Linked DNA regions of Homo sapiens: all the other regions are linked to region 1. Evidence: promoter capture Hi-C in 16 types of primary human blood cells and fetal thymus (Javierre and others, 2016). All regions are on one chromosome and are shown on one strand. The core of a region is centred on a gene start or on the middle of the fragment in contact, and the rest is flanking DNA. Distances in the headings are between cores, read along the strand shown. Region 1 holds the start of C12orf75 (chromosome 12 open reading frame 75). Region 2 holds the start of HCFC2 (host cell factor C2). Region 3 overlaps TXNRD1 (thioredoxin reductase 1). Region 4 overlaps TXNRD1 (thioredoxin reductase 1).

What was found. Contacts are between HindIII fragments. The CHiCAGO score rates a contact against its expected background, and 5 or more counts as called.
Region 2: the fragment with the promoter of HCFC2 here is called in contact with the fragment with the promoter of C12orf75 in region 1 in 11 of 17 cell types (fetal thymus, non-activated CD4 T cells, total B cells and 8 more); the score reaches 18.9 in fetal thymus.
Region 3: a fragment that was not itself captured here is called in contact with the fragment with the promoter of C12orf75 in region 1 in 1 of 17 cell types (total B cells); the score reaches 5.5 in total B cells.
Region 4: a fragment that was not itself captured here is called in contact with the fragment with the promoter of C12orf75 in region 1 in 1 of 17 cell types (total B cells); the score reaches 5.5 in total B cells.

Annotation. Positions count from the first base shown.
Region 1 is chr12:105,326,433-105,333,769 of GRCh38, forward strand. It overlaps C12orf75 (chromosome 12 open reading frame 75), which reads left to right and starts at 4,259. Exons shown (of 6, transcript NM_001145199.2): 1 at 4,259-4,505. The coding sequence starts at 4,460. C12orf75-AS1 (C12orf75 antisense RNA 1) reads right to left here and starts at 585. Exons shown (of 3, transcript NR_131986.1): 1 at 472-585. RefSeq lists enhancers at 902-951, 5,341-5,884 and silencers at 3,895-4,554, 4,585-4,684. The HindIII fragment of the contact is 8,522 bases long and covers 1-7,159 here.
Region 2 is chr12:104,060,071-104,067,407 of GRCh38, forward strand. It overlaps HCFC2 (host cell factor C2), which reads left to right and starts at 4,461. Exons shown (of 15, transcript NM_013320.3): 1 at 4,461-4,653; 2 at 6,097-6,245. The coding sequence starts at 4,491. It also overlaps a transcript of GLT8D2 not described here. RefSeq lists an enhancer at 2,495-2,664, a cis regulatory region at 2,580 and silencers at 3,988-4,147, 4,157-4,326, 4,308-4,477, 4,698-4,837. The HindIII fragment of the contact is 6,452 bases long and covers 3,901-7,337 here.
Region 3 is chr12:104,216,554-104,223,890 of GRCh38, forward strand. The region is part of intron 1 of TXNRD1 (thioredoxin reductase 1); the gene reads left to right. Among named protein-coding and RNA genes, the nearest start is that of TXNRD1, 4.4 kb to the left of the region's middle. RefSeq lists enhancers at 1-234, 2,893-3,037 and a cis regulatory region at 2,960-2,970. The HindIII fragment of the contact is 204 bases long and covers 3,444-3,647 here.
Region 4 is chr12:104,283,844-104,291,180 of GRCh38, forward strand. TXNRD1 (thioredoxin reductase 1) reads left to right here. Exons shown (of 17, transcript NM_001093771.3): 4 at 5,088-5,197. Among named protein-coding and RNA genes, the nearest start is that of TXNRD1-AS1, 6.7 kb to the left of the region's middle. RefSeq lists enhancers at 2,390-3,589, 2,882-3,429, 2,955-3,124, 3,079-3,458, 3,430-3,975 and 3 more and a silencer at 4,936-5,065. The HindIII fragment of the contact is 1,252 bases long and covers 3,485-4,736 here.

The DNA of each region.
Region 1 (7,337 bases), core at 3,009-5,508:
GGATCACCTGAGGCTAGGAGTTCGAGACCACCCTGGCCAACATGGTGAAACCCCATCACTACTAAAAATACAAAATTAGCTGGGCGTGGTGGTGCATACCTGTAATCCCAGCTACTGGAGAGGCTGAGGCAGGAGAATCACTTGAAACCAGGAGGCAGAGGTTGTAGTGAGCCGAGATCCCACCACCGCACTCCAACCTGCCTGGGTAACAAGAGCGAAACTCCATTTCAAAAAAAAAAAAAAAAAAAAAGTGACACAGTGTGGGGAAGAGCCTCTTTTCTCTTTTCTGTTGGTGGGTATGGTTATGTATGAAGTTGCTACCGGGTGCTGAGGCAGCCATCCTGCAGCATGTCAAGAGGGAAAAAGAGAAAAGCAAAAAGAAAATCTAGGCTGCCAGACTTTTTGTGGGGAGCCCTTCATGGGAAGAAAAATCATGAAAACTTAGACTTACTCAGGTTTATATTCTCCTACCTCTTGCTTTCTTTTTCTTGTCAGATGAATTTCACTCATACACCTCTTCTCTCTCCTTCATGCCAGATCAGTTCTGTTTGGAAGAATGAAAATGACAGCTAAGTGGTGTGATCTAACTGACACAGGGAAAGAAGCTGAAATTGACCACTCAGGAAATGAGGCATGTGTTAATGATTTTCTTTTGACTCATTGTTTTTAAAAACATCCACATGCAATCAACTGTTGTCTATAAAATAAAATAAAATTCCTAAAAAGGAAAAAGGGGACATAGACTTGCTATTTCATTCCACATTAGGAAGAGGACTAACATTTATTGGGTACTTACTATATGCCTGACATTTTACTAGGAACTTTTCATACTCTGTCTCACCAAATGACCTTGCTTGCCCTTTGAATAAAATTTTAACTCCTTTCCACGGTGTATGTTCTGACCCCCTCTCTGAAATCCGCACCCTCCCCATCTCTACTCCACAGATGGGCCTTTGAATTCTGGCTTTTTTTTAAAATTCCCTCTTATTTATGAAACACACCTAGCACGTTCCTGCCTCAGGGCTCCTGTTCTTGTCATTCTCTTTGCCTGGAATCCTCTTTCCTTGGATCTTCCCATGTCTGATTTCTTTTTTTTTTTTTTTCTTTTTTTTTTTTTTGAGACAAGAGTCTCGCTCTGTCACCCAGGCTGGAGTGCAGTGGTGTGATCTTGGCTCACTGCAAGCTCCGCCTGCCAGGTTCATGCCATTCTCCGGCCTCAGCTTCCTGAGTAGCTGGGACTACAGGTGCCCGCCACCACGCCTGGCTAATTTTTTGTATTTTTAGTAGAGATGGGGTTTCACCGTGTTAGCCAGGATGGTCTCGATTTCCTGACCTTGTGATCTGCCCTCCTCGGCCTCTGAAAGTGCTGGGATTACAGGTGTGAGCCACCGCACCCGGCCAATGTCTGATTTCTTTACATCAACCACACCTCACAAAAATATCCTTTCTTCAGAGGGCCTTCTGTGACCATTCTATTAGGTTAGTGCAAAAGTAATCGCAGTTTTTGCCATTAAAAGTAATAGCAAAAACTGTGATTACTTTTGCACCAACCTTATATCTAGAATAGCACCTCTCCCTCTACTCCTAGTCTCCTATTCCAGTGACTTATTTTTTCCCATCGCACTTGTATCTAAAATTATCTGATTGTATTTGCTTTGATGTATCTCCTCCCACTTGATTTTTCCTCTCTCTCTTGTTCACTGCTGTCTCTCAAACATTTAGAAGAGTGGCTGGCACTTTAAAAACAGATTGGGGGTACAAGTGCATTTTTGTTACACGGATGTATTGGGTGGTGGTGAAGTCTGGGCTTTTAGTGTAACCATCACCCAAATAGTGTACATTGTACCCAACAGGTAAGTCCTCATGGCTGGAGCTCTTAAGGTGATACTCAATAGTGCTTGTTGAAATAATGGATAGATCACATAATCTATAACATTATAGGGCAGAATGCACACTACGAGGAACCATGAGATATCTCAGTAAGTGAGTGTTAGAAAAGAACCTACAGGATTTAGGTTCATAATAGGTGATTTTGGTTGGGATTTAAGGAAGCAGAACTTTTTTTTTTTTCTACATTGGATATTGTCAGGAAGCAGGGACAATTCTATGATTAGAGATTCTTAATGAACCTCATCTCTAGGCAGGAAGACAAGAACAGGGCTAAAACCATAACTGGTAAAGCAGCAGCAGACAATCCTATCAGGCAGGATGGGGAGATGTTTGGTGTTTTGGGGGTTTGCACAATGACCTTGTTTTTGTCAGCACTTAGACAAGATTACCGAGTCACCTTGTTTTTTGTCTCATTTCATAGTTTATAGAGTGGCCTTGTGTGATATTGGTGTTCTATGCAACTGTGTTTAACAGGAGAATGCAAAGGCCCAGCTGTTGAGTGTCACAGCTTCTAGGCCAGTTTCTAGGTGTCAAGGTCCATTTTCTGTCTCTTACAAGTGTCCTAAGGCTGGAGTCTAGTGTCAGCACAGAAATAAGCAGGAGAATATCTTTCGGCTACTTGATAGTTCCCTTTTCCCCAGTTCTGGCTATGTATTAGGATGGACACTGAACCAAGACAGCACAGGCTGGTAGAGAAGCAGTACTTCTAGAAGTCAACTAAAAAATGCCTTTATTTATCCAAGAATTAATTATCCTCTCAGCACATGGCTACCACAGCTAATTTTCAAATGGAGAATGCTGTATATTTTGCATCCTGAATGATAGAACGCACCATTGCCTCAAAGGCCATGTTCAAAAACCTGCCAAGTCCTTGATTCTGGTTCATATTTTTATTTTTATGTAAACACAACAGTATGGTTTCAGGGAAGTCTGTTTTTTTTTTGTTTTGTTTTGTTTTTTTGAGACAGAATCTCGCTTTGTCACCCAGGCTTGAGTGCAGTGGTGCTATCTCGGCCCACTGCAACCTCCACCTCTCAGGTTCAAGTGATTCTCTTGCCTCAGCCTCTTAAGTAGCTGGGATTACAGGTGTATGCCACCACACCCAATTAATCTTTGTATTTTTAGTAGAGACAGGGTTTCACCATGTTAGGCTGGTCTCGAACTCCTGACCTCGTGATCCGCCCGTGTCAGCCTCCCAAAGTGCTAGTTTACAGGTGTAAGCTACCATGCCTGGCCTTAGGCAAGTCTTTTAACTAGCATCCCAGCATCCTCTGGGACTCTATGGCACCTGTATTCCTCTGTTAACATTCCTTCTATATTGTAATTAATTTATTTTAATCTATCTGCCTGGTTAGACTGTCTCCCACATATTTGTATCCCCGGAACTTAACAAAGGACTTGGCACAGGCTAGGCTCCCTACAAATATTAAGTGAATTTAAAATGGAGCTTTAATTCCTGGCTTGAAGTCACCTCACAAAACATTTAGTGAGTCTGTATTACAAGCCAGGAGGACGCTATGAAAAATCAGATAGTCTTTCCCTTTAAGGAATTTGTATTCATTTCTATTAGAGTTAATAATAATAATGATAATAGCTGATATTTACTAAAGATAGGGAACTTTGTTAGGTACTTTATATGTACCTGAGTTACTGTCATTTTATAGGTGAAACAAGGGATGTACCCAATGGGTTAAGTTACTTTCCTGAGGTCACGCAGCTATCACGGGGCAGAACGAAGACTTTAACTCAGACAGTCTGACTGCAGTAACGCTGGCCCAACTATCATGTTGAAACGTACAGCACCGTGCCCATCCACAGTTCTCTCATTTATCAGAGAGGAGGTCCTGAATCCAAGTTATTGAAATCGTTGCAGACATTTGTTTTAAAGAGGAATAGGTCAAGATGACCAATCTGGGGAAGAACTTTTGCCAGGCAGTGCGTATGGGGAACAGAGCTGCGTTGGCCTTCTGTTAAAGCAGCTGGGGATTTCGGTTTTGGCTTCAGACCTGCACAACATTCAGTCAATAGCATTTATTGGGCGTCCACTGTGCAGGGTGCCCCCTGCTACTTCCTCTCCTCCCCACATCCTGGGGCAGGGAGGGGAAGTGAGGAAAGAAAAGCAAAGACAAGGCGAGGAGGATGCTGAGGGTGGGCAGGTGGGCACCCCCACCCCGCTGCGCCGGCCACGCCCCTTGCCGCTCCCTCGCCCCGGGGCCCACTTTAAACTCCCGCCCCTCGTAATAACGACCAATGGCCGACCGCGAAGCGCGCAGGAGGCTGGGGATTGGCCAGTGCCGAGGTTGCTGGGGCGACGGGTGGGTCCGGCGGGTCCCCGGGCGGGGCGGGGCCGGGGCGAGGGGTGCCGGGTGGTTTCCGCCCGGCAGCCCGCAGCCCGCTGCGCCCCGGGCCGCGTCTCCCGGCGGTGGGAGGGGGCGGCCCCCACTCGGTTCCTGGCCCCTCGCGGCCCCGTCAGCCTCCCGCTCGGGGTGCGCCGCCCTTCGTCTGGGTCTCCGCCCCCAGGACCCGCGGCCGAGAGCTCCGGAGCGCGGCTTCCCCGGCCGGCTGCGCGATGGGCTGCGGGAACTCCACCGCCACCAGCGCGGGCGCGGGCCAAGGTGAGTCCGGCGGGAGGCGGGGGCCGGCGGGGGCGGGCGGGAGAGGCGGCGGGAAGGAAGGGTGCAGGGATCTTGGGTGGGGGGCGCGCAGCCCCCTCTCCCCGTCCCCATTTTCGGGACAGGAGCAGACCGCCCGTTTCTGGAAAGACCGAAAGCGTGGCAAGTCCCCCGCGCGGGGGCGGTTGCGCCTGGAGCAGTCGAGCCTGCGGGGCGTCTCTGCCGAGGGAGCGCGGGGAGGACTGTCGCGGGCTCCCCTGCAGCCGCCGGGGCTCACCTGCAGCTGGCGGGTCTCAGGGCTCTCCTGGGGGAGAGGATTCCCGGACGTGGTCCCCGGCCGCTCCCCCACCTCCCACACTTGCTCCTCCAGGCCTCTCCCCCATCTCCTCGGAACCAAGGCGCTGCACCTGGAAAAGTGCAGCAGAGCAAGACAGGACTTTTCGGGCAGTGGTGGTGGGGCAGGAAGCGGGGAAGGGTGGGAGTGGGGTTGGGGAGAACTAGAAGCAGAGCTGCAAAAACGCATCTGTGTCTGCCTTGATGCCGAAGACCGGCTGGGCTGCTCTTAGGATTTCTCTGAGAAGCTGCAGCAGTAAGGATGTTTTACATATGTGAGACAGAGCTTTATTATTAACAGTCTGTTAAGATACTTTTCATTAAACACACACACACACACACACACACACACACACAAATAGAAACTTCTTTTTATACCACTTCATGTTGATTGGCAGGCAAGGTCTTCTAGCTTCCCCGGGCCAGCCAGGCTTTGTGTCAAGTGACTTTTGCCAAAACTCACCCTTCTATTTCACCCTGCCTATGTCTCGGGATTTAAGGTACCCTGGATCTGTTTTGAGTAATAACTGCTGACCTATTTCAGTGTCCTTTTGGATAAAGAGCTCCTATCTCCTCCAATTGAAGTCAACCAGATGCCACATCCTAGCCTAACCAGCAAATGCAAACAGCAGTCAGAGGCTGCGGTATTTCCTAGGCGGCTGTGGAGGCCCTGGCAATGACTTTGTAACCTTGGGCCTGTCACATCCCTTAACCCAGACGCCGGTAAAAAATGGAGTTTAAGACTCAATTTGAGTCTTGAATTAAATCCTGTCCTGGTGACAATGCAGAGAGCCACAGGAGAGCGAACTTTTTAGATTCATTTAACAGTGGGGAAGGTTAGTGTAGCACCTTATGCTAATGAGGGCAGACGGGCTTCAAACCTGCCTGTGGCCAGAAAGCTCTGCTTGTATGAAACAATGTCAGGGCCACACCCCGCACTCAAATTGTGTCTCAGTCTACTAGGTACTGTGGCCGTATGCAATCCACTGCATGTGTAGCCTACTTAAAAAAGGTGAAGAAAAGTTATCCACATTAAAAAAAATTGTAGGAAGGATTTGTAGCAGATTTCCCTTAAAATGAGGCTAGTTTCATGCATGTACATTTTGATTTATTAATGAACTGCTTGTCAGTTTTAGGGATGGGGAGGGGGTACCATTGCCAAATGAAAATCAGAATGATGGACCAGGCGCAGTGACTCATGCCTGTGTAATCCCAGCACTTTGGGAGGCTGGGGTGGGTGGATCATCTGAGCTCAGGAACTCGAGACCAGTGTAACCAACATGGTGAAACCCAGTCTCTACTAAAAATACAAAATTAGCTGGGCGTGGTGGCGCCTGCTTGTAATCCCAGCTATTTGGGAGGCTGAGGCACGAGAATTGCTTGAACCTGGGAGGCGGAGGTTGCAGTGAGCTGAGATCGCACCATTGCACTCCAACCTGGGCAACAAGAGTGGAACTCCGCTCCATCTAAAAAAAAAAAAAAAGAAAAGAAAAGAAAATAGAAAGATGGTAAGGTATGATGAGCTAGCTCTAAAATGTTAATGTAAAAATCAAATTTGGGGGGAAAATATGATTTCTTGGGGAAATATGATTATCTTTATGAATATTTGATTGACTTTTTCCCTAGGAGCATCTCTCTTATCACCTAAAGGGAAGTCATATTGAAAAAAAAAAAAAAAGCTACCGAAAGAGTAGTTTGAGGAGCAGCCTCACTTTTGTTTGTGGACAGTGCATGTGAGAGCATGCTATTCTCTCCTCCAGCTTGCTGTTTGCCAAAAATTACTTTTTGTTCAGAGGAGAGAAGGATATTGAGTGCAGATTCAAAACATGCAGGAGACAACATGATGAGCAGGGAGTTATTGCATCACCTCTTTGATGGATATGCCCTTGTCTTGGAGAAGCCATTCCCAAACATTTGCCTGCCTGTGAGTCCACCTGGCTGACTTTGGGATTTGGTCATTGTTATTTTGAAATGTTCTGTCAGTTGGTGTTAGGAATTTAGGTTCAGAGAGGAAATACATCAGGATGAGAGATGTAAAGAAAAATAAACCACAATGCAAAGGTACTGAAAATCTCAGCTGTGAGCTTGGGCATCAGCGTCAATTGCACTGTTGACCAAGCTGCACACTAGGAGGACTGAACCCGAGCAATACGAAACGCGTTAAAGAGATATTGTCTTTCTCTTCTAGTTACTTACAGTGCACTACTTCCAATATGTCCCAGGAGTCATAGAATTCAGTAGCCATACAAACTTTTCAGAAAAAAAAAATGTACAAAGAGATTGTAGAAAGGGTGCTGAACTTAAGAGTCTGGACAGTGAGCTTAAGCTTAGGTTTGGTGCTGTGCTGTTTGCATTATTGTGGGTGTTTCATTTTACTTTTTTGAATTTTGGTTTCTTTGTTTATATAATGGGAATAATTCGGTGTATCTTGTTTCATAAGGCTCATGTGAAACTCAAAAATAACATGAAAGCACACTGTAAACTGTAATTATTACTATATAA
Region 2 (7,337 bases), core at 3,211-5,710, 1.3 Mb before region 1:
CAGTTGCTTCTTCGTCCTCTTCTTCCCTGACCTCTCTGTGGCTTTTGGCTTTCCTTACCACTTCTGCCTCTATGAAACCCTCTTTGCCTGTGGCTTCTTTGACATCACCCTCACCCAGTTCCCTTTTAACTTCTCTGGCTACCTATTCTCTATTTCCTTCATGAGTGCCTCCTCTTGTCTTTACCCCATCAATGCTGGCTTCTTCAGGGTGCTATTTTCCATCCCTCTTCTCCAAACTCTCCTCCTAGGTTGTTGTTTCCAAACTACATTCTTGAAGTTTCAGAGATTGAAGGTACTTTACTGTGAAATGGGGACCTATTTTAGATGCCTCCCTCAAGGACAGATTACTCAAAACTGCTCTACTAAAACATCTTTCCCATTGGATTATGTACTTTGTCATAGATTGAATTGTATCTCCCCCAAAAGACATGCTGAAGCCTTAACCCGCTGTACCTATGAATATGACTTTATTTGGATATGGGATCCTTGCTGATATAATCAAGTTAAGATGAGATCACAGGATGAGCCCTAATCCAATATAACTAGTGAATTTATAATAAGAGGAGAAGAGGCTGGGCGCAGTGGCTCACATCTGTAATCCCAGCACTTTGGGAGGCTGATGCAGGAGGATTGCTTGAGCTCAGGAGTTCAAGACCAGCATGGGAAACATGGTAAAACCTCATCTCTAGAAAAAATTTAAAAACTAGCCAGGCATGGTAGTGCACACCTATAATCTCAGCTACTCCAAAAGCTGAGGTGGGAGGATCACTTAAGCCTGGGAGGTGGAGGCTGCAGCAAGCTGAGATCGCACCATTGCACTCCAACCTGGATGACAGAGCCAGACCTTGTCTCAAAAAGAAAAAAAAAAAAGAAGAGACAGACACACAGGGAGAACACCACGTGATGATGTGATGGAGTCAGAGACTGGAGTGATTCATTGACAAGTCAAGGGCTGCCATGGATTGACAGCTGCCACCAGAAGCTAGAAAGAGGCATGGAAGCATTCTTTCCTACAGGTTTTGCAGGGATCACAGCCCTACTGACACTTTGATTTCAGACTTATATATCCTTCAGAACTGTGAAACAAAACATTCCTATTGTTTCACAGCAGCCCTAGGAAACTAGTACACATTTCCTCATCACCCTGCAGCTCCCTATCTAAGCCACCAGTTATAGCTTGCAATCTCTTTTGTCTTAAAAATATTTTGCCTTAATTTTTCTCCTAGTTCAAGGGTACTTGGGCTTTCAAATATCATAGACTAGTTTTTTTAAATTTGAAGTTCAACATTAGGGTTGGAACGTTTGATTTTTTCCTTTAACCTTGTGCTATAAGGGCATTAGAAAAAAACTACCATCTAGGCACAAAACTCTCAGAACAAAGTACAGTTCTTTAAATTAAACACTTTGGGTTTTATGAAAAACTCACTGCTTTATTCCAACTCTTCCAGTTTTATTTCAAATCCATAAAAACTTTATTATGGCAACATTTAAGAGCCTCCTATGTTATGTATGTGACATAGAAAAATATTAATAGATAAATATTCATAACCTCTTTTCTGTTCGCAGACATCTTATTTCTCCCTCCCTTTCCAAATTCTCTTTGGACATATTATGAAATTGGGCTGGCCAGGCGCAGTGGTTCATGCCTGTAACCCCAGAACCTTAGGAGACCAAGGTGGGCAGATCACCTGAGGTTGGGAGTTCAAGACTAGCCTGACCAACATGGAGAAACCTCATCCCTACTAAAAATACAGAATTAGCCAGGCGTGGTGGTGCATGCCTGTAATCCCAGCTACTCAGGAGGCTGAGGCAGGAGAATTGCTTGAACCTAGGAGGTGGAGGTTGCAGTGAGCCAATATCGGCGCCATTACACCCCAGCCTGGGCAACAAGAGCAAAACTCCATCTCAAAAAAAAAAAAAAAAATGGGTTAATACTCAGTGAGAGGGAGAATTTAAGAAGCAGAAGCTAAAAAAAATAGTGAGAATTCCTTTTGGGGTTTTTGTTTGTTTGTTTGTTTTTTAGACTGAGTTTTGTTCTTGTTGCCCAGGCTGGAGTGCAATGGCACCATCTTGGCTCACTGCAACCTCTGCCTCCCAGGTTCAAGTGATTCTCCTACCTCAGCCTCCCAAGTAGCTGGGATTACAGGCATGCACCACCACGCCCGGCTAATTTTTGTATTTTTGGTAGAGATGGGTTTCACCATGTTGGCCAGGCTGGTCTCGAACTCCTGACCTCAGGTAATCTGCCCTCCTCGGCCTCTCAAAGTGCTGGGATTACAGGTGTGAGCCACCGCACCCGTCCTGAGAATTCCTTTTTAAAACATAGAGAGTTATCTCTCAAAAAAAGCTTAGATAGATGAGAAGGTGGAGAAGCATGCTGAGGTTTAAGGGAGTTGGGTGAATGAGGCATATAAGAGAAATTGAAAATGGTAAAATAAGAGGAAAAAAGAGTTTTAGGAAATTTACTATACAGTGTCTGTGTTCTCCTTTGAGTACCTCTTGAGAATCTGAGGTAGGGATTTAAATTGCTTTCAATTTTTTCTTCCACTGGACTTGTATCTCTTATTTATCTCTCTTTAATAAAAATAGAGATGGGATCTCACCATCTTGACCGAGCTGGTCTCAAACTCCTGGGATCAGTGGATCCTTCTGTCTCAGCCTCCAAAAGTGCTGGGATTACAGGTGTGAGTCACCATGCCCAGTCCTTTTTCAATTAAAATTTTAAAAAATAACTTGTATTGTGGATATTTAAGATATACAATATGAAGTTGATATCATATAGACCAGGGGTCCCCAGTCCCCAGCAACCAGTCCTCGGCCTGTTCGGAACCCCCATGACCTTCCTGAGCTCTGCCTCCTGTCAGATCAACCGCGCATTAGATTCTCATAGGAGCTCGAACCCTACTGTGAACTGCCCATAGGAGGGATCTAAATTGTGTACTCCCTATGAGAATCTTATGCCTGATGATCTGAGGTGGAACAGTTTCATGCCAAAACCATAGCCCCCATCCCCTTGCCAAGTCCATACCACCCACTCCCCTGCCAAGTCCGTGGAAAAATTGTCTTCCATGAAACCGGTCCCTAGTGCCAAAAAGGTTGGGGACAGCTGAAACAGGCAGTCACAAGGTTACTATAGTGAAGCATATTAACATATCCATCATCTCATATAGTTACCACCAACCCTTTTTGTGTCTCTGTGGCAAGAGTGGCTAAAATCTACTCATTTGGCATGAATCCCATATGCAGTGCAGTTTTATTCCTAATGGACTTGTGTGATTATGTGTAGGACCAAATCACAGGGCAGCTAGGCCTTATTAAGTGTTGCATTGGCTGGGTGCGGTGGCTCATGCCTGTAGTTCCAGCACTTTGGGAGGCCAAGGCAGGAGGATCACTGGAGCCCAGGAGCTCGAGCTTGCAGTGAGCTCTGATCGCGCCACTGCATTCCGGCAACAGAGCCAGACCCTATCTAAAATAAATAAATAAAAATAAAGAGTTGCGTATGACTGCTACCAGAGGCAGTATGGTATAATGGTTGGATATGACTGCTATCAGAGGCAGTATGGTATATGATATAAGGGCTTGGGGGTTCTGGAATCAGAAGCCCTGTGTTGGAATCCTGGCCCCAGTCTTTTTTTTCAACACCTCTCCTTTGTGTCCATCAGAAAATTACCTTACTGCACTGTGCCTCATTTCCCCGTCCATGAAAGGGAGATAACAGGAGCCACCACACTGGATTGCTGGATGGATTACATGAGTTAATACACATGAGGCACTTAGGGCATGCCAGGCTGTGGACAGCCCTCACTTGTTAGCTAGCAATGAAACAGAAACCTAGAAAACCATCTCTCCTCTGCTTAAGCCAAACAAACCAAAAATACCTCTTGTGGCTCACGGTTCCCAAGCTTCCTGGCATGGCTCCGCACAAAGCTGCCTTCGGTTCGCCCGGCAGGCTTTGTAGCGACCTTCCCTGCCCGGGTCCCAGTCACGGTCGGGAGCAGCCGCCGTGGCCCGGGCTCGCGAGGCAGGCTCCCGCCCGCACCCTCCCGTGCGAGGTCCCCGCCCTGCGCTCCCAGCTCTTCGAACCTCTACCCGAGCTTCTCTCACGTTGCTTGTGAGACTGCCTCGCCCACACATCCTAGATGCTCAATTAAAGTGGACGTAAAGGAAGATGCTGTGGCTTCTTCCCAAAATACCGAACGGGAGGCTCTGGGTGGGGATGGGAGACGTGGTCAGTGGGAAGCGTCCTTCCACCCTAAGGTGCGTTGCTCCGGGTGGCCGCTGGCCAAGTCGCCTGGGGTGGGGGCGGGGCTCCCCTGTCAGGACCCCCCTTCCCCAGCGTCTCTCCACTGCCCGCGGGCCTCCAGCCTGGCCGCCGGCGCCCGCGGCCACGTGACCCCAGCACAGCTGGAGGCGGGTCCCCGCCCTCCCCAGGGAGCAGCCGGTTGAGGCGGGAGCGGTGCATTGTGGGCAGAGGGGCGGGGGTTGGGAAGATGGCGGCTCCCAGCCTCCTCAACTGGAGGCGAGTTTCTTCCTTCACGGGGCCGGTCCCCCGCGCCCGGCACGGACACCGAGCGGTGGCCATCCGGGAGCTGATGATCATCTTTGGAGGGGGAAATGAGGGCATCGCGGATGAGCTGCACGTCTACAACACGGGTAGGCGCGGCGGCGGCTCGTCGGCCCCGCCTGCTGGAGCTGCGGAGGGGGAGGGGAGGCGAGGCGGCGGCCGCGGCCCTGACAGCTGTCACCGCCCGGTCACTGCTTCCTTGGGCGGGCGGCGGGGAGCGCGGCTCAGCCGGGCAGCCCGGGTCCGGCAGCTCTGTCCCGGACCGCAGCTCAGGATCTCCGGGGCCCTTGGGGCGCAACGGACCCCGAGCGGGGCGCACCGGCCTTCAGGCGGGGGATCCCGGACGCCCCCACCCCAGCCCGACAGGCGGACGCAGGCGACAGAAGACCATGTCCAACCGCCTGGGCCACTCCCCGAAATCTCGCCTCTGTCAAAAAACAAAACCCACTCCAAACCAAAGTTCCTTAGGGCCTTTCCCGTCTTTGCCTGCCTTCCTTCCTTAGGAGGAAGACCATCTAGGGGGTGAGGAGGGAAAACGAGAGGCCTTCTGGCACTCTCGCCTCAAATACAACCCGGTGTTTGGCAGGTAACGGTCAAGAGCCCCTCCGTGAGCCGCGCTCTAAAGCGGCGGGGACGTGGTGAGGCGGCCTTGTGTCTGCATACTCGGTGTGGACGCCCTTCTGGACTGGCCCTCGGAAAGAGGACTGTCATAACTTGAGCACCACTGCAGATCACAAGTGCCCCTGGGCAGGGAGCCCCTATCTTTGAGGACCTCTGTGGAATAGAAAGGAAACTGGATTTAATTTTTTTTTCCCCTTGTAAATGCTCAGGCTGTCACAAGAAATCTGTTTGGTGTAAAGACAGTGATGGAATTTTGGGTCTACTTCATGACCGATAACTTTTCTTTGATCAAACAACTTAATCACAGGAATAATTTGAAGGTTAACAAAATAGTGGAGTCTGAGAAGTTTTATTTTTTTCACCCTCTCCTCCTCCCAGCGCCCCAGCATATGAAGGTAAAAAGTTACTGACACTTTGGTCTTAGTGTAAAATCCCTGGCTTTGGAACAAATTAGACCTGATTTGAATCTTGCTCTGCCGGTTGCCCAGGATCAGCGCTAAAGTTACCAAACCTTTTTAAGCCTCACAATTTTCAGTTGTAAAATAGAGATTTTTATACTCACCCAGCAGGGCGTTTTGTAAGAATTAAATGATACAGATCAGGGTTTTTCAACAGCAGCACTCTCGACCTTTTGGGCCAGGTAATTCTTTGTTGAGGTTGGGGGAAGCTGCCCTGTATTGCCCTGTACATTGTAAGATGTTTGGCAGCATCCCTGCCTCTACCTACTAGATGCCAGTAACAGCCCCCTCCAGTTGTGACAACTAAAAATGTCACCAGACATTACCAAATGTCTTCTGGGGGGCAGAATCATCCCCAGTTGAGACCCACTGATATTGATGATATATATTTGCTGATAGTATATGATAACCGTTGTTTGTTATAATCGGTTTTCATTTTATTTTGGCAACTAGCTACGAATCAGTGGTTTCTGCCAGCTGTTAGAGGAGATATCCCTCCAGGCTGTGCTGCCCATGGATTTGTCTGTGATGGTACCAGAATATTAGTATTTGGGGGAATGGTTGAATATGGAAGATACAGCAATGAGTTATATGAGTTACAAGTAAGTGTATTTAATATTGTTTCATTCTGAGGCTTTAATAATGATATTGTTCATAATTTTTCAAAAGATTGCAACATTACTAACATTGTTTAACACATTTTAATATTATTCAAGTAATGTATTATTCAAGTAAACTATTATTCAAGTAATATTATTCAAGTAATGTAAACTTCACATTTTATAGCTTTATAGAAAATGTTTCCACTTCACTTAAAACCCAAAGTTTCCTGGCAAGTCTTTTTCCCATACCCAGTGCAACATTTATAACATCAAGATATCTGTTACGTAGCATCAGTTGTACATGTTATATATTTAGGTTTTTGTATCTTAATGCAGTAGAAACTTTAGCCTGCAACAGGAGCGCCTGGAGAACCTGTGAAAACACAGATTGCTGGGTCCTACCCAGAGAGTTTCTGAGTCAGAGGAAGGCCATGAGCATTTGCATTTCTACCAGGTTCCCAGCTGCTGATGCTCCTGGTTTGTTTGTTTAGAGACAGAGTCTTGCTCTGTCACCCAGGCTGGACTGCAGCCGCGCAATCTCGGCTCACTGCAACCTCCGTCTCCTGGGTTCAAGCAATTCTCCTGCCTCAGCCTCCTGAGTAGCTGTGACTACAGGCACGCGCCACCATGCCCAGCTAATTTTTGTATTTTTAGTAGAGACGGGTTTTCACCATGTTGGCCAGGCTGGTCTTGAACTCCTGACCTCAGGTGATCCACCCACCTGGGCCTCCCAAAGTGCTGGGATTAGCCGACGTGAGCCACCGTGCTGTGCCGCAAATTCTTAAGTATTAAGTACTGCAGGACTCACAGAGGGATAGTTGGCATTGGTATCAACTGACATATTCACAACTTTGAATAAAACTTTCCACATTTGGAAAATCACCATGCCTGGCCCCTAGGCTATACTTTGAAAACCACTGCTTTAGTGTTTTAGAAATTGTTACCCTCATACTAATATTTACTACACCCCCCACCTTGACAATACATACAAAAGAGGAGTAACAGTTTCCCATAACCTTTCTAAATTTGAGTCTTATTAAACCAGACTCATAGCCCTTGTTGACTTTTCTTCCTGATCTGTGCCTTATCCCT
Region 3 (7,337 bases), core at 2,296-4,795, 1.1 Mb before region 1:
AGGGGCCTTTGGAAGCACTAGACATGGGTAATAATCTTGGTTCATGTTTCCAGCCATACTGAGAGATTTATCATAAACCCCATTATACAGATGAAGAAACTGAGAAGCAAAGAGGTTATAAAACTTACCCAAAGCACACAACTAGTAAGTGGAAGAGCTGGGATACCAGTTGAGGCCATCTGACTCAAAAGCCCTGGTCATAGTCATATGGCCGCCTCCACCTTTTTTATAGGCTTGAGAAAGTGAGGCTCCAAAAAGTGCCTTGCCCAATGGCTAGAATTATTAAATGCTGTAGGATCTGCCTCTTTCAAAGGCTTACAGTTTAGTTACAAGGCAGCATATGGTGAAGGGCTAAAAGGAGTGGTAAAAACAGCCAAGTGGGGATGGCAGCTCCCATAGATGAGGTAGGATTTGGTAGAGGTGTCTGAAGGGAGAACATTCTTGTTAGGGGAAGCAGCCGGTGAGACCATGCTAGAGATAGGGAGGCCTGTATATCCTGCTGGAGTTAAGGACTTGGATTAGGGGAAGGGAAGAATAAAGGAACAGGGTAGGAGCAAGGTCAGGCAAGGTCCAGGTCAGGCAGCTAATTTGTGGCCATTAGTACAATGAAGGAGTTTGAGCAGGTGCATCCCAAATTGACGTTTCATGTGCCATCCTCAGGATCTTCTTGATATCTATGTCCTTCCATTTATTTACTGTTTTTCTTTAGCTACATTCTTTTTGTGTGTGGTTAAAAAAAAAAAATTTACCATCTTAACAATTTTGTTTTTTTTTTTTTTTTAGTTTCGCTCTCGTTGCCCAGGCTGGGGTGCAATGGCGCCATCTTGGCTCACCTCAGCCTCCACCTCCCAGGTTGAAGCGATTCTCCTGCCTCAGCCTCCCAAGTAGCTGGGATTACAGGCATGCACCACCACGCCTGGCTAATTTTGTATTTTTAATAGAGACAGGTTTTCACCATGTTGGTCAGGCTGGTCTTGAACTCCTGACCTCAGGTGATCTGCCCACCTCAGCTCCCCAAAGTGCTGGGATTACAGGCATGAGCCACTGCACCCAGCTGACCCTAACCGTTTTTAAGTATACAGTTTTCAGCAGTATTAAGTATATTCACATTGTTGTGAAGCAGATCCCCTGAACTTTTTCATCTTGCAAATCTGAAACTCCATGCCAACTCGTTAACTTTTCATTTGCCGTTTCCCCCAGCCCCTGGTATCCATCATTCTACTTTCTGTTTCTGTGAAATTTGGCTACTTTAGATTGCTTATATAAGTTGGTATCATACAGTGTCTGTCTTTTTGTGACTGGCTTGTTTCACTTAGCATACTTGTCTTCGAGTTTCATCTGTATTGTAGCATGCGACAGGATTTCCTTACTTTTTAAGGCTGAATAATATTCCATTGTGTGTGTGTATATGTACATACACACACACATATATACACACACACACACACAAAATGGAATATATATACACACACACACCACATTTTTTTTTTCCCGAGATGGAGTCTTGCTCTATCGCCAGGCTGGAGTGCCGTGGCATGATCTTGGCTCACCACAATCTCCGCCTCCTGGGTTCAAGCAATTCTCCTCCCTCAGTCTCCCAAATAGCTGGGATTACAGGCCCGCCACCATGCCCAGCTAATCTTTGTATTTTTAGTAGTGACGGGGTTTCACCATGTTGGCCAGGCTGGTCTTGAACTCTTGACCTCGTGATCTTCCCGCCTCAGCCTCCCAAAGTGCTGGGATTACAGGCTTGAGCCACCACGCCCGGCCTGAACTATTTTATAATACAGAAAAGCTCACTCGTTATAATACAACTTGCTAAATTTTTACAAACGAAGTATATGCATGCAGCCCACACTCAGCTGAGGAAATAAACGTTTCCAGTACCCCAGGAGCCCCTCTAATGTCTCTTACCCCCATACCAAGGGCAAACACTACTCTGATTTCTAACAGCATAGAAGAATTTCACCTATTTACATTTACTTTTTGAAACTTAAATTTAGGCATATTTTAAGCATTAATCTATTAAAGCACGGCTTTATACTAGGTATTTTTCTTTTTCTTTTCTTTCTTTTTTTTTTTGAAATAGGGTCTTGCTCTGTTGCCCAGGCTGGAGTGCAGTGGCCCAATCATAGCTCATTGCAGCCTCAACCGCCTGGTCTTAAACAATCCTCCCACCTCAGCCTCCTGTGTGGTAAAGTGTGCCACCAAGCCCAGCTAATTTTTTTACATTTTGTAGAGATGAGGTCTTGCCATGTTGCCCAGGCTGGTCTCAAACTTCTGGGCTCAAGTGATCTTCCCACCTTGGCCTCCCAGAGTGCTGGGATTACAGGTGTGAGCCACTGTACCCAGCCTAGATATTTTTCTATACACATACATATATACATAATGATGATTATTATTTTTCTAGAGATGGGTCTCACTCTGTTGCCTAGATTAGAGTGCAGTGGCATGAATCATAGCTCACTGAAACTGAACTGCTGGGCTCAAGTAATCCTCCTGCCTCAGCTTCCTGAGTAGCTAGGATTACAGGGACACACCACCATGCCTAGCCTCAATTTTAAATTTTTTGTAGAGATAGGTCTCACTAAGCAACAGCCCCATCTGATCTCGAACACCTGGCCTCAAGTGATCCTCCTGCCTCAGCCTCCCAAAGTATACTGCACCAGGCCCATATTATACATAACTATTGACATTAAAAATGTTCTTTTGTGTGTCACCTACAAACACTCTAGAAGCCACCTTCCTTAAGTACCATATGATCTCTAAGTTCCTTCTCAAATTAAAATTATGTGGTTAAGTTTCAAGAAACTAATTTCTTAATGATGCAGAAGGTTTTGCTTGAATGACTCTTCAACCGAGCATCTATTATTTATCAGGCACTGGGAACTCAGGGATAAACAAGGCATGATCTCAGTCCTTGAACATAGAGTCTCGTGGAGAAGAATGGCGTAGAAAATGCAGTGTCATGATGTGTAATCATAAAAGTAGATGGGTACACACCACTTCAGGAGAATGGCAGAGGGAGTTAACATCTTGGCACTTAGCATTTAGTATTTCTTCTGTAACACACATTCCATTCTATTTTAATGAGCTTGCAAACATTTTTCCTGCTGGATTTTTGAGGATCAGGAATGTGTTTTGTTCACTATCTTATCTCCTACAGTCCTTGGCATACTGCCCTACAAATCAGTAAATGTGTTTATATGACTCATATGGCAAAAGGCAATTTTTTTTTTTTTAATAAGTGAGGAATGTTCCAAAAGCCAATGCTATTAACATTGACCAGCTTCTTCTAGTAAGGAGAGGAGACAGTATTTTTTCAAAGTGCGGTCCTAAGACCACCTGCAAGAGAATTAATTACATGCTGGGAATGTGTAGATTAAAAACTCATTTTCCTGTTCTCCATTTCAGACCTACTAAATCAGCCTCAGAGTGAAGGAAGCTTCATTTTTGGTGTCTCAAGTGATTCTATTTGAACCAAGGCCTGAGAACACTGCAGTGAGGTGTTTAGGCCAGCGTCAAATCACCTATTTCTGGGCAGAGGTGCCTATCCTTAGCAATGGGGCTGAGGCTGGGGTGGAGGTTGCTACTGCAGATCACTGAGGCTGATAAGGGTGAGTCAGATGCCCCAAGAGGAAATTGAAAGCTTTGGAATGGAACCAAAGATCGTGACTGACATGCAGTCATGCAATCTGCAATCAGAAGTTAGTATTACACGATGCGCTAGATAATTGTAGAGTAATCTTGCTTTTTGTTGATTTTAACCAGGTAATTTAAAGTCATTACTCATTATTTGGATTTTCACATTTGAATGTTTACTCTTTGTATTAATGTGTACTGAGTATTTAAAGCTTTTAAATTAGCTTTTTTAAAAAGTGTATTTTAGGCCAGGTGCGGTAGATCATGCCTGTAATCCCAGCACTTTGGGAGGCCAAGGCGGGTGGATCATCTGAGGTCAGGAGTTCGAGACCAGTCTGGCCAACATGGTGAAACCCCATCTCTACTAAAAAAATACAAAATTAGCTGGGCGTGGTAGCACACACCTGTAATCCCAGCTACTCAGGAGGCTGAGGCAGGAGAATTGCTTTAATCCAGGAGGCAGAGGTTGCAGTGAGCTGAGGTCGTGCCATTGCACTCCAGCCTGGGTGATGAGAACGAAACTCCGTCTCCAAAAAAAAAAAAACGGTGGGGGGGAGGCGGTATTTTAGATTTACAGTTGGATTAAATCCTTGAAAGAACTCAAAAGAAGGAATTAATCTGTTAATGCCTTTTCTTTACCTTCATAAAACATCAGGGAATATTTCATGAATATTCCTTATATCCTACTTTCTAGCTCTGAGCATTACTTTGCTGGTAGAAACTAGTCTACATGTATATAACTATAAATGACTATCACAAATCACTCTTTGATGTTAAAAACAAACTATCTGGCTGGTTGTGGTGGCTCATGCCTGTATTCCTGGCACTTTGGGAGGCCCAGCTGGGAGGATTGCTTGACACCAGGAGTTCAAGACCAGCCTGGGCAACAAAGTGAGCCTCAGTCTCTGCAAAAACAAATAGCTGGGCATGGTGGCGTGCGCCTGTTAGTCACACCTGCTCAGGAGGTTAAGGTGGGAGGATCGCATGAGCGTGGGAGGTCGAGGCTGCAGTGAGCCATGATCAGGCTACTGCACTCCAGCCTGGGTAACAGAGGGAGACCCTGTCTCAGAAAAACAGCAACAAATCTACCTGTTGGGTTTTTCGTTTGTTTGGATTTTTATTTTATTTTATTTTATTTTGAGACGGAGTTTCACTCTTGTTGCCCAGGCTGGAGTGCATTGGCATGATCTTGGCTCACTGCAAACTCCATCTCCTGGGTTCAAGCGATTCTCCTGCCTCAGCCTCCCAAGTAGCTGGGATTACAGGCATGCACCACAACGCCCGACTAATTTTGTATTTTTTGTAAAGACAAGGGTTTCTCCATGTTGGTCAGGTTGGTCTCCAACTCCTGACCTCAGGTGATCTGCCCACCTCAGCCTCCCAAAGTGCTGAGATTATAGGCATGAGCCACCGCTCCCGGCCACCTGTTGGTTTTAGTGGTAGTGCAGTGGTTTTCAGCTTTCAACATTCAAGTACGCTCCCAACTTTGACAAATATAGAAAAGTTATTTTTGCCACAATTTAGTGTGTTTATGGAAGGTGTATACAGAAACTTCAGATGACAGTGTCTGTTAGATGAAAAACTGAGCTGGGCAGGTGGTGGGAAGTTGTATAGACCCAGAAATAACTTGTTATGGGAAGAATTAAGAGGCCACAATTAATGGGTTGAAAATTAAAAATCTGCAGGGACAGGCAGGTCATATAAATGAGTGACCCAGGCAGGTAGTAAACAGCAGGGAGTGGTGGAGACTGGGGTGGACTGAGGAGAGAATGCTGTACAGACAGGGCAATTTCTACTGAGCTTCCCTTTCTTTGGGTGGGAAAATGAGTGTAGTGTGGCCAGACCTGCTTTTTTTCAAGAGAAACTAGAAATCTCTATTTATCATTTTTGTGACTTCCCCAGCTTGTGAATGTCAGCAGTAATGCAATTAAGCAAAATACTGAGGGTCAAACAAGATGTGATTGCAGGTAAATATGGTCTGTGAATGTGTAGAATAATGTCAAGCTGGCACACATTTAAAAAATGAGAAAAAGATGGTGTCTTTTGAATGTATAGAAGTGGCTGGGACAGAAAACAGTTTTTCTTAGATAGTAACACAGTGCAGAGAAGTGTCTGAGTGAACAGTGTAAATGACCGCTGTCAAAGTATGGTTTTCGAAACGTTAAAAATATGATCTTGTACAGAAAAAAAAACAGGTATCAAAACTTAGTCATTAATTAAACCAATAAATGAAAGAACCAATAAAATGGTAAAGCTAATTTAAAGGCAAATTCAAGGACTAGGGACATATAATCAAAGAAATGATGAATTGAATTTGCTAGTACAGTAGTTACAAAGCTGGTTAATGTCTCACAGAGCAATAAAACTAACTTTTGGGCCAGATGCAGTGGCTCATGCCTGTAATCCCAGCACTTTGGGAGACTGAGGCAGGCAGATCACTTGAGGTCAGGAGTTCGAGACCAGTCTGGCGAACATGGTGAAACCTCATCTGTACTAAAAGTACAAAAATTAGCCAGGTGGTGGCATGCGCATGTAATCCCAGCTACTCAGGAAGCTGAGGCAGGAGAATCACTTGAACCTGAGAGGCGGAGGTTGCAGTGAGCCGAGATTGCACTGCTGCACTCCAGCCTGGGTGAAATAGTGAGACTCTGTCTCAAAAAACAAACAAACAAACAAAACTAACTTTTGGGATTATTGAGCAGAAATGTACGAGTTAACATGAAACTTCAGTGTCTAGGCTGTAATAAAATAGTAAACAGCAAAGTCAAGTACAGATACACTCTCTTAAGAAAATTAAATGATCCTTGGGTGGGCTTGTTAAACATGGTCCAGTATGACATTGAAAGGACATTTAGTCAACTTCTTTCTTTACTTCCAAGTTTGGACATTTTTCTTAAGATTGTGGATATTACAGTGTAGCTATGGCTGCCTTGAGATTATTGCTCACTTATATAGTGGCATTTTAAGCTGCTTAATCCCCTCAAATGTGCTGCCAAAATTCTACTTTTTCAAGTATGTGCAGCAGCTTTTCTCAAGTATGTGCATTTAAACTTTTAAAAATGTTTAAAACAACTGTGAGCAAATCGAAGGCTTGCTGCACTCTATATAGGGTCAATGTTTCATTAAGTGCTTTATCACAAAGATTTGTTTAGAAGTGGGCACAAGGCTCTTGGTCATCAAATTCGTTTTAGGTTTAGAGAAGTAATCTTACCTCTTGGAGCAAGAGCTAGATTTCACTCTTTTATGTATAGAGTGAGATCAAGGAAGAAGGGGAATAGAAGGAATAGAACTTAGCAAACAGCTCCCCACTCCCAAGTCAAGTTTGTTAGAAATGTAACACTGGACTACCATTGTTGGGAGACCAAGGAGCATGGTTTCGCTGTACCATTCCTTTCACGGGATTCCATGGGATCTTTCTAGATGTGCTGGACTGGTAAAAATCCTTACCTGTGGGAAGGGAGGGTGTGTCCAGTTGAAGCAGAATAAAAGGAAAGCTAAACCGGGAGGTGACCCTTGATCAAGCACTGGGAAAAAGTGGTAAAAGCTCTTGAATCACTCACTGAGAGGCAGCTGAAGGTGGGGACTGGTGAGGAGGGAGCATGAACTGCTGCATCTGGCAGCCAGCTTTGGGGACCAGTGGCTGGTGCAGACTTGCTAAGGAGTGCTAATGGTGTTTATTAAAACAACAACAAAAG
Region 4 (7,337 bases), core at 2,861-5,360, 1.0 Mb before region 1:
AGGGCAACAAGAACAAAACTCTCTCTCTCAAAATAAATAAATAAATAAAAATAAAATGAAATCCAAAATCCTGACTGTGGCCTGATAATGGGTCTGACCTCTGGCTACTCCTGACTTCACTACCTACCACTTTTTTTCTCATCAGGAAATAATAAGAGTGAAGGCAGAGAATATGGCAGCTTGCTGGTTAAGGGAGTTCTGTCTGATTGATGCTATTTTCTTAAAGTAGAAAGTAGGTCATGAGCTAATGCAAGGTGTAGGGGCATTAGAAGTTTGAGGAAAGAGGGATACGTGTGAAATGGTCATTTTGGATCCTGAGAAAACAAATATTCCAGGGATGCAAAGGATTGCTGGGCAACCTTGAGGATACATTTGAAGTTTGTGGTCTTAACTTTAAAGTGAAATCACTTTTAATTTCTGTGTTTCCTTCAGCAATGTTTCCTGCTTTAAGTGGAGTACAGAATATGTGGACAGCTAGGTTCAGCAAGGGTGGGCCTTGCCATGTCAACGCGACTGAGAAGCTTGGACTTCATATTGAGGGCCCTAGAGAGCTACTGAAGGTTTGAGTAAAGAAGATTTAGGTGTTAGAAAGATCATTCTAGCTCAGTATGGTGTGTGTGTGTGTATGAGAGAAAGGCTTATTATAGGTAGAACAGTAGTTTAATACAATAGGAGCCTTTATCAAACACCTGCATAAATTTGTTATAGCTTAGATGACAGTTCAGGAACATAGAGAGGTCTATTTCCAGCATTTTCTGAGTACCTACTATATACCAGATTCTGTAAAGACAAAATAAACAAGGGTTTGCCTATCCAAAGCTCTTGTAGAAGATTTGTAATTATTATTAGGTATTTGGGGGACAAAGAAGAGGGAAGGAGCAATTAACACTGGGTGAAAATCCAGGAAGACTCCCAGAGGAGGTGACATTTCAGATGAGCTTTGAAGGACTAGGCCCTTAGGGAGGGAAGATAATTCTGAAAAGGAAGAATGAGCCCAGTCAAGAGATGCGAAATGTATGATTAAAACATTTTATGTTTATGATTTGCTACGGCCAGGCACAGTGGCTCACACCTGTAATCCCAGCACTTTGGGAGGCTGAAGCAGACGGATCCCTTGAGGCTAGGAGTTTGACCATCCTGGCCAACGTGTTGAAACCCCATTTCTACTAAAAATACAAAAAATTAGCCAGGTGTGGTGGTGCATGCCTGTAGTCCCAGCTACTTGGGAGGCTGAGGCATGAGAATCGCTGGAAGCAGGGAGGTGGAGGTTGCAGTGAGCTGAGATGCGCCACTGCACTCCAGCCAGAGCAACAGAGCAAGAGACTGTCAAACAAACAAACAAACAAACAAATAAATAAATAAATTGCTGCATGATGAGAAATGGTGGAAGAAGATGAGGTTCTTCTTCCATTAACCAGCAACTAAATAGAACTAAGGAGTTTTTCCTCTAGAATTCACGACAAGGGTAAGGCATCTGGGCTCTTAACAGCAGCAAGAAGGATTTGAAAGAAAAGAAGATGGTTTTAAAATGGTGATTTTAATTTAAAGAAAAATAACTACATGGTGCTACTCTGGGCATCTTTGCTATAATTTGCTCACTTAGGAACAATGTGAAGTTAAAATGCCTTATCTAGCCTGTTTTGGAATGCCGTTAGAAAATATTAATTATAATCACTCTGAGCTGTCTATACAAGATGCTTTTAATGGCAAGCCTCTTCAAATCAATCCTTATTACTTGCTTTTAGTACATTATTTCAAGTTAAATGATCCTTCTGTGTCCTAAGTCATGCTTTTGAAATAAGGTGTATTTTCAATATATTTCTAAGAATGAGGAGTTTATGACCCTGGTTCATGGGTCATTCGGTAGACTAAATGAGATAAAGGCATATAAAATTATTAATACAGAACTTGGCTTGGGAGCCAGGAGTAAATGTTTTTTGTTCTCCCTTAGACCCAGTCTTTTCATGTTTTTCCTTCTTTCCTCCTTAAATCACATTGTTTCCTCAACACCCACGTACTAGATCCATTCTCTGTTCTAGGGACTCCAGAATCAGGTGAAACACTCATGTCAATAATCAAACACTCATGTCAATAATCACCTTACAGGGGAAGTGTCAAGTTAGTGTGTGTAGTGTGTGTGTGTGCCCATTTAGAGGGTGAAGAAGCTAAATCAAGCCTCTGAGTTTCACCTTGGAAGGGCCTGGCAGGACCTGGCAGTGGTTGCCTGTTTGTTTAGAGGGAGTGTGGCTTCTGCTGGCTGTTAGGAGCCCGCAACGCTCTCAGCTGAGAGTGCTTCAATCTGGCATTATCCAAAGAAGTGGGAAAGACATTCCTTCCTTCCTTCCTTCATTCAGTTATTATGTATTTATTCAGCAAATATTCATAGCCTGCTAGTGCACAGTGCTGAATAAGAACATGAGTAAGAGCAGGGAAGCATGAGAGAGCATGGCTCACCTTAGTAGCTGCAGGTGGCTGGGTGCAGCTGGAGTTAAAAGACACTCTGAGTTTTTCTTAAAAAAAACAATAAATACCAAACTTAGAATCTAATAAGGAAGAGGTGCTCTCAGGGGAAGTTAGGTGTGTTCCTAAGAATTTGTCATTTCTTTTCAGGATTAGTCAGGATGAACTAGACATTTCTTTTCAAAAGCCTAATAACTTCCTTTAGGGAACTGCCAAACTGACTAATCCATGACCTTAAGGCAGTGGGTCCCAAACTTTGCTGCCAACTCAATCACCTTTGGAGTTTTTTTTTTTTTTTTAAACGCAGAGGCCCAGGTCACACTCCACACCAATGACATCAGAATGTCTAGGGGTGGGAGCCAGGCACCAGGATTCTAAAGACCCTCACGTGATGACAACAGCTAGCAAAGTTCTGTAGCTACTGCCTTAGGGCATAGTCTAATTTCTTCAGTAAAAACACACTTATTCCAAATTTGGTTCCAGAATTGCCTTAAATTGTTTTTGCTCTGTTCTTAGGTTGGGGGCGGCTATGAGCAGGCAGAGGATGTGGTGTCACCCAATTAGGAGCTCTCAGCTTACGAGGCAATTAGCATAGGTTGCCAGGGCTGCACGAGGAGTGGATTTCTGCTTTGTCATTCTGACTCTGGCAGTTAGCCCGCCCGCTCGGCGCAGGGCGTGGCTTCTCGTAGCCATTAGGAAACAGCAACCCTTTCACCTCAGTTTTCTTCACTCCGGCATTTGCAGCAGAGCGAAAGGTGGTCGAGTCCTGAAGGAGGGCCTGATGTCTTCATCATTCTCAAATTCTTGTAAGCTCTGCGTCGGGTGAAACCAGACAAAGCCGCGAGCCCAGGGATGGGAGCACGCGGGGGACGGCCTGCCGGCGGGGACGACAGCATTGCGCCTGGGTGCAGCAGTGTGCGTCTCGGGGAAGGGAAGATATTTTAAGGCGTGTCTGAGCAGACGGGGAGGCTTTTCCAAACCCAGGCAGCTTCGTGGCGTGTGCGGTTTCGACCCGGTCACACAAAGCTTCAGCATGTCATGTGGTAGGTGAGGCCGGCGCCTGTAGGCTGGCGGTTTCCTTCCTCTTGGTCTTTGTAGAGACAGTTTGCAGAACAGCGGAGAAAATGGGTATTGTATCGTTTCTTACAGAGTCCGAGTCTTGAAATGTAGATGACAATGTGTTGAGTGGACTGACAGATCCTTGAGAATATTAAGAAAGTATAACTATGTAAGAATGCTTCTCTAGGAATTTTCACACCATTTAATCCTCAGAAATCCTGAGACGTTGGCAAAACACATGGGGTCTCCATGTTTTTACAAGTAGGGAAAGCAAGGCTCAGAAAGATCAAGTGGCGTGCCCAGCTGGACACAGACTATTAAATGGGGCGGCGACGACGACCCCAGGGCTTCCTCACTCTCTCAGGCAGTACAGGACAGTGATTAAACGCGTCGACCACATTGCCTGGGTTTGAATCCTGCCGCTGCTTTTGAGTAGCTCCTTGAGCTTGGACAAGTTTCTTAGCTTTTCTGTACCTGTTTCCCTGTCTGTAAGTTGGGCCTGGTAATACTTACTTGTAGAGTGGTTGTGAAGTTGAAATGTAAATATATGTGAAGCAGTATAGACATGTTAGCTACTATTATTACAATTAAGCAGCTATACTTTGTTTTTTGTTTTTTGTTGGTTTTTTTTGTTTGTTTGTTTTTTGAGACGGAGTCTCATTCTGTCGCCCAGGCTGGAGTGCAGTGGCACGATCTGGGCTCACTGCAACCTTCGCCCCCTGGGTTCAAGCGATTCTCCTGCCTCAGCCTCCTGAGTAGCTGGGATTACAGGCACCTGCCACCGCGCCCGACTAATTTTTGTATTTTTAGTAGAGACAGGGTTTCACCATCTTGGCCAGGCTGGTCTTGAACTCCTGACCTCATGATCCACCCGCCTCGGCCTCCCAAATAAGCAGCTATACTTTTGAATGTTGGCGTGATTTATGTCTAATGAATAGGCCTCATGTCAGTGTAACTGTGGAATCTGTATGTTCCACTGAGTTCACCCCTTTGTGAAATTTTACCATTAGTGCCTAGTTTCATCTGTAGCGTTGTGTATTGCTTCAGGATTCTTTTTAAGAATGCACCAGGTAGGCAGAGTGTTCTTAATTTTGCTCCACGGTTTCAAATGTCAAGGAAACGTTGGAAGTTGGATTTTGGCATTCAGTATAGATGCAGAGTTGAAAGCAAGATCAAACTGGGAGGTGTTTTGTGAAAGTTGAGATAAACGTGTATTAAGCTTCTTTTTTGAAGCTTTTCTGAATTCGGGATTTACCGGGAAAGTAGGACGTTTAATTTTAGCGGAGTAGTGCAATGATTTAACCCTGACTAGAACTCTGACGTTTACAGCTAGCCTTGAGGCCATGTTTTCAGCCAGTGTGCGGATTTGCCGGGGTCAGACTCCAAGCTTGATTGTGAGTTCTAGCCTTTGTCAGAAATGCAGCAAGTCATGCTAACTTGCAAGGGAGTCAACAGAGGGCACGCGGTGCCTGCGGGGCCGGGACGGAAGCCCCGCCCCCGGCGCAGTTCCCGCCTGTTAGCGGGGGAGAAGCACCTTACACGCTCCGCTCTGCTTTTGTGCCACACAGAGGACGGTCGGGCCCTGGAAGGAACGCTCTCGGAATTGGCCGCGGAAACCGATCTGCCCGTTGTGTTTGTGAAACAGAGAAAGATAGGCGGCCATGGTCCAACCTTGAAGGTAGGAGAGAGTAACGTATCTTTTTAAACGGGGGATGAGCTCGTTGAGCTCAGCGTGGTCACAGCCTGCCTTTTAAAGCCAGCGTGGATGTGACCCTCCAAACGGGACGCAGCGCTGGGAAATGACGAAAAACGCTCGTGGGCTAGCGCATGTGTTAATCGAAGTTGATGAGACGTTGGACAAATTTCACATCTCGGGAAACTTGAAATTTCTAACGCTTTTTATCTTTTAAAATAGCTTTTTAAAAATGTCCTTTTTCTCCTATTTCCCCTTCCTCTTTCCCTCCCAGTTGTAAATAACATTTTTTAGCAGCAATGTAATCTGCTAAATGTTAGTTGTTTAGGGAAGTCCTGAGAAAAGGGGATCAGGAAATGCTTATCTTTGTCATCAAGGTGGCCCTGTAATCTTCCTCTTAATTCTCTCAGGGGTAGGGGACCCGGAAACCCCAGGGTCTGGAGGAGAGCAACCAGGAAGCTCTTGGGGTGACTTCGTTTTCCTTCAGGTGTGTCTTTTTAGCCCAGAGTTAATAGTTGGGTGAAGGGAAAGGAAGAAGTCTTCCCTTTGGCTGGTAGCAAACGCAGTAGAAATCCTTCCTTAGACCTATGCTACTGAGGAGTTATAGCCACTGAGGGATTTATAGCCTACAGTGTTAGAAAAATGCTTGGAGGCTGGGTGTATGTATGTTTTATTTATGTATTTAAAAAAAAAAAACAGTCTTGCTCTGTCACCCAGAGTGCACTGGAGTGCAGTGGCGTGATCTTGTATCACTGCAACCTCCACCTCCTGGGTTCAAGCAATTCTCCTGCCTCAGCCTCCCGAGTAGCTGAGATTACAGGTGCCCGCCACTACACCCAGCTTCACCATGCTGGCCAGGCTGGTCTCAAACTCCTGACCTCAGATGATCCACGGCTGGGTGCATGTTTAAGGGAACAGGACACCTGGGTGATGTTCTATCTCACCTGTGGTAGATTACCAGGTTAGAAAACTTCCCGTAGTCCCATCACCACGATCCATGTGATTTTTGTCCTTATCCATTTATATCTCTGTAATTTTTAAGAAATGAAAACATTGCCTTCTTAGAAGTAAACCTAACGCCTGCGTTAAATGTAAAAATATATTTAGATGTGTTGCAGCCTTAGGAAAAATACTAATAATTTGAATTTTTATTTATTACCTTTTCTTTTAAAAGTATTTTATTTATTTTTGACAAATGGTTATAGGGAATGGATCTAGACTTCAAACAGCAAATTAATGGAAAATTAATGGAAATACAGAGGCTTTTAGCTTTAGTTAAAATATATTGTGTTACTCAGACCTTTAGTTTGCAGGTAAAAAGAGATAACGGTCTATTATATTAATATTCCTTCCTGGCCGGGTGCGGTGGCTCACACTTGTAATCCCAGCACCTTGGGAGGCCGAGGCAGGCGGATTGCTTTGAGCTCAGGAGTTCCAGATCAGCCTGGGCAACACGGTGAAACCCCGTCTCTACTAGAAATAAAAAAATTAGCCAGGGCTTGGTGGCACATGCCTCTGGTCCCAGCTACTCTGGGACTGAGGCTGAGGCTGGGGAATCAACTTGAACCTGGAGGTGGAGGTTGCAATGAGCTGAGATTGCGCCACTGCACCCTGGCCTAGGTGACAGTGAGACCCTGTCTCAAAAAAAAAAAAAAAGAAATATACATATATATATATATATATATATATATATATATATATATGTATATTTCTTCCTGTCTGATTATTCTATTATTTTCACCTGTGCCATAAGTTTACATTTACAAAGTTATATAGTAATTTGATCTTTATGTAATTCTACTGATACTCCTGGTTTTAATGGCAATGGGAGTAAAAAGAGTCACTCTTTTTATAAGCTTTGGAACTCACTTAATTGATTTGGTCTGATGTTCTGATGTTTTTTCTTTTTTTTTAATTGAAAACTTTTTTTTCTTTAGAGATGGAGGTCTCATTATGTTGTCCAGGCTGGTCTTGAACTCCTGGGCTCAAGCGATCATCCGGCCTCGGCCTCCTAAAGTGCTGGGACTGCAGGTCACGACATTTAGTGAGGTATAGTGCCATGAATGAAAAGCATACCATCAAGAACACTTAAAAGAAATCATTTAGCATATTTCTTAAGTAAACT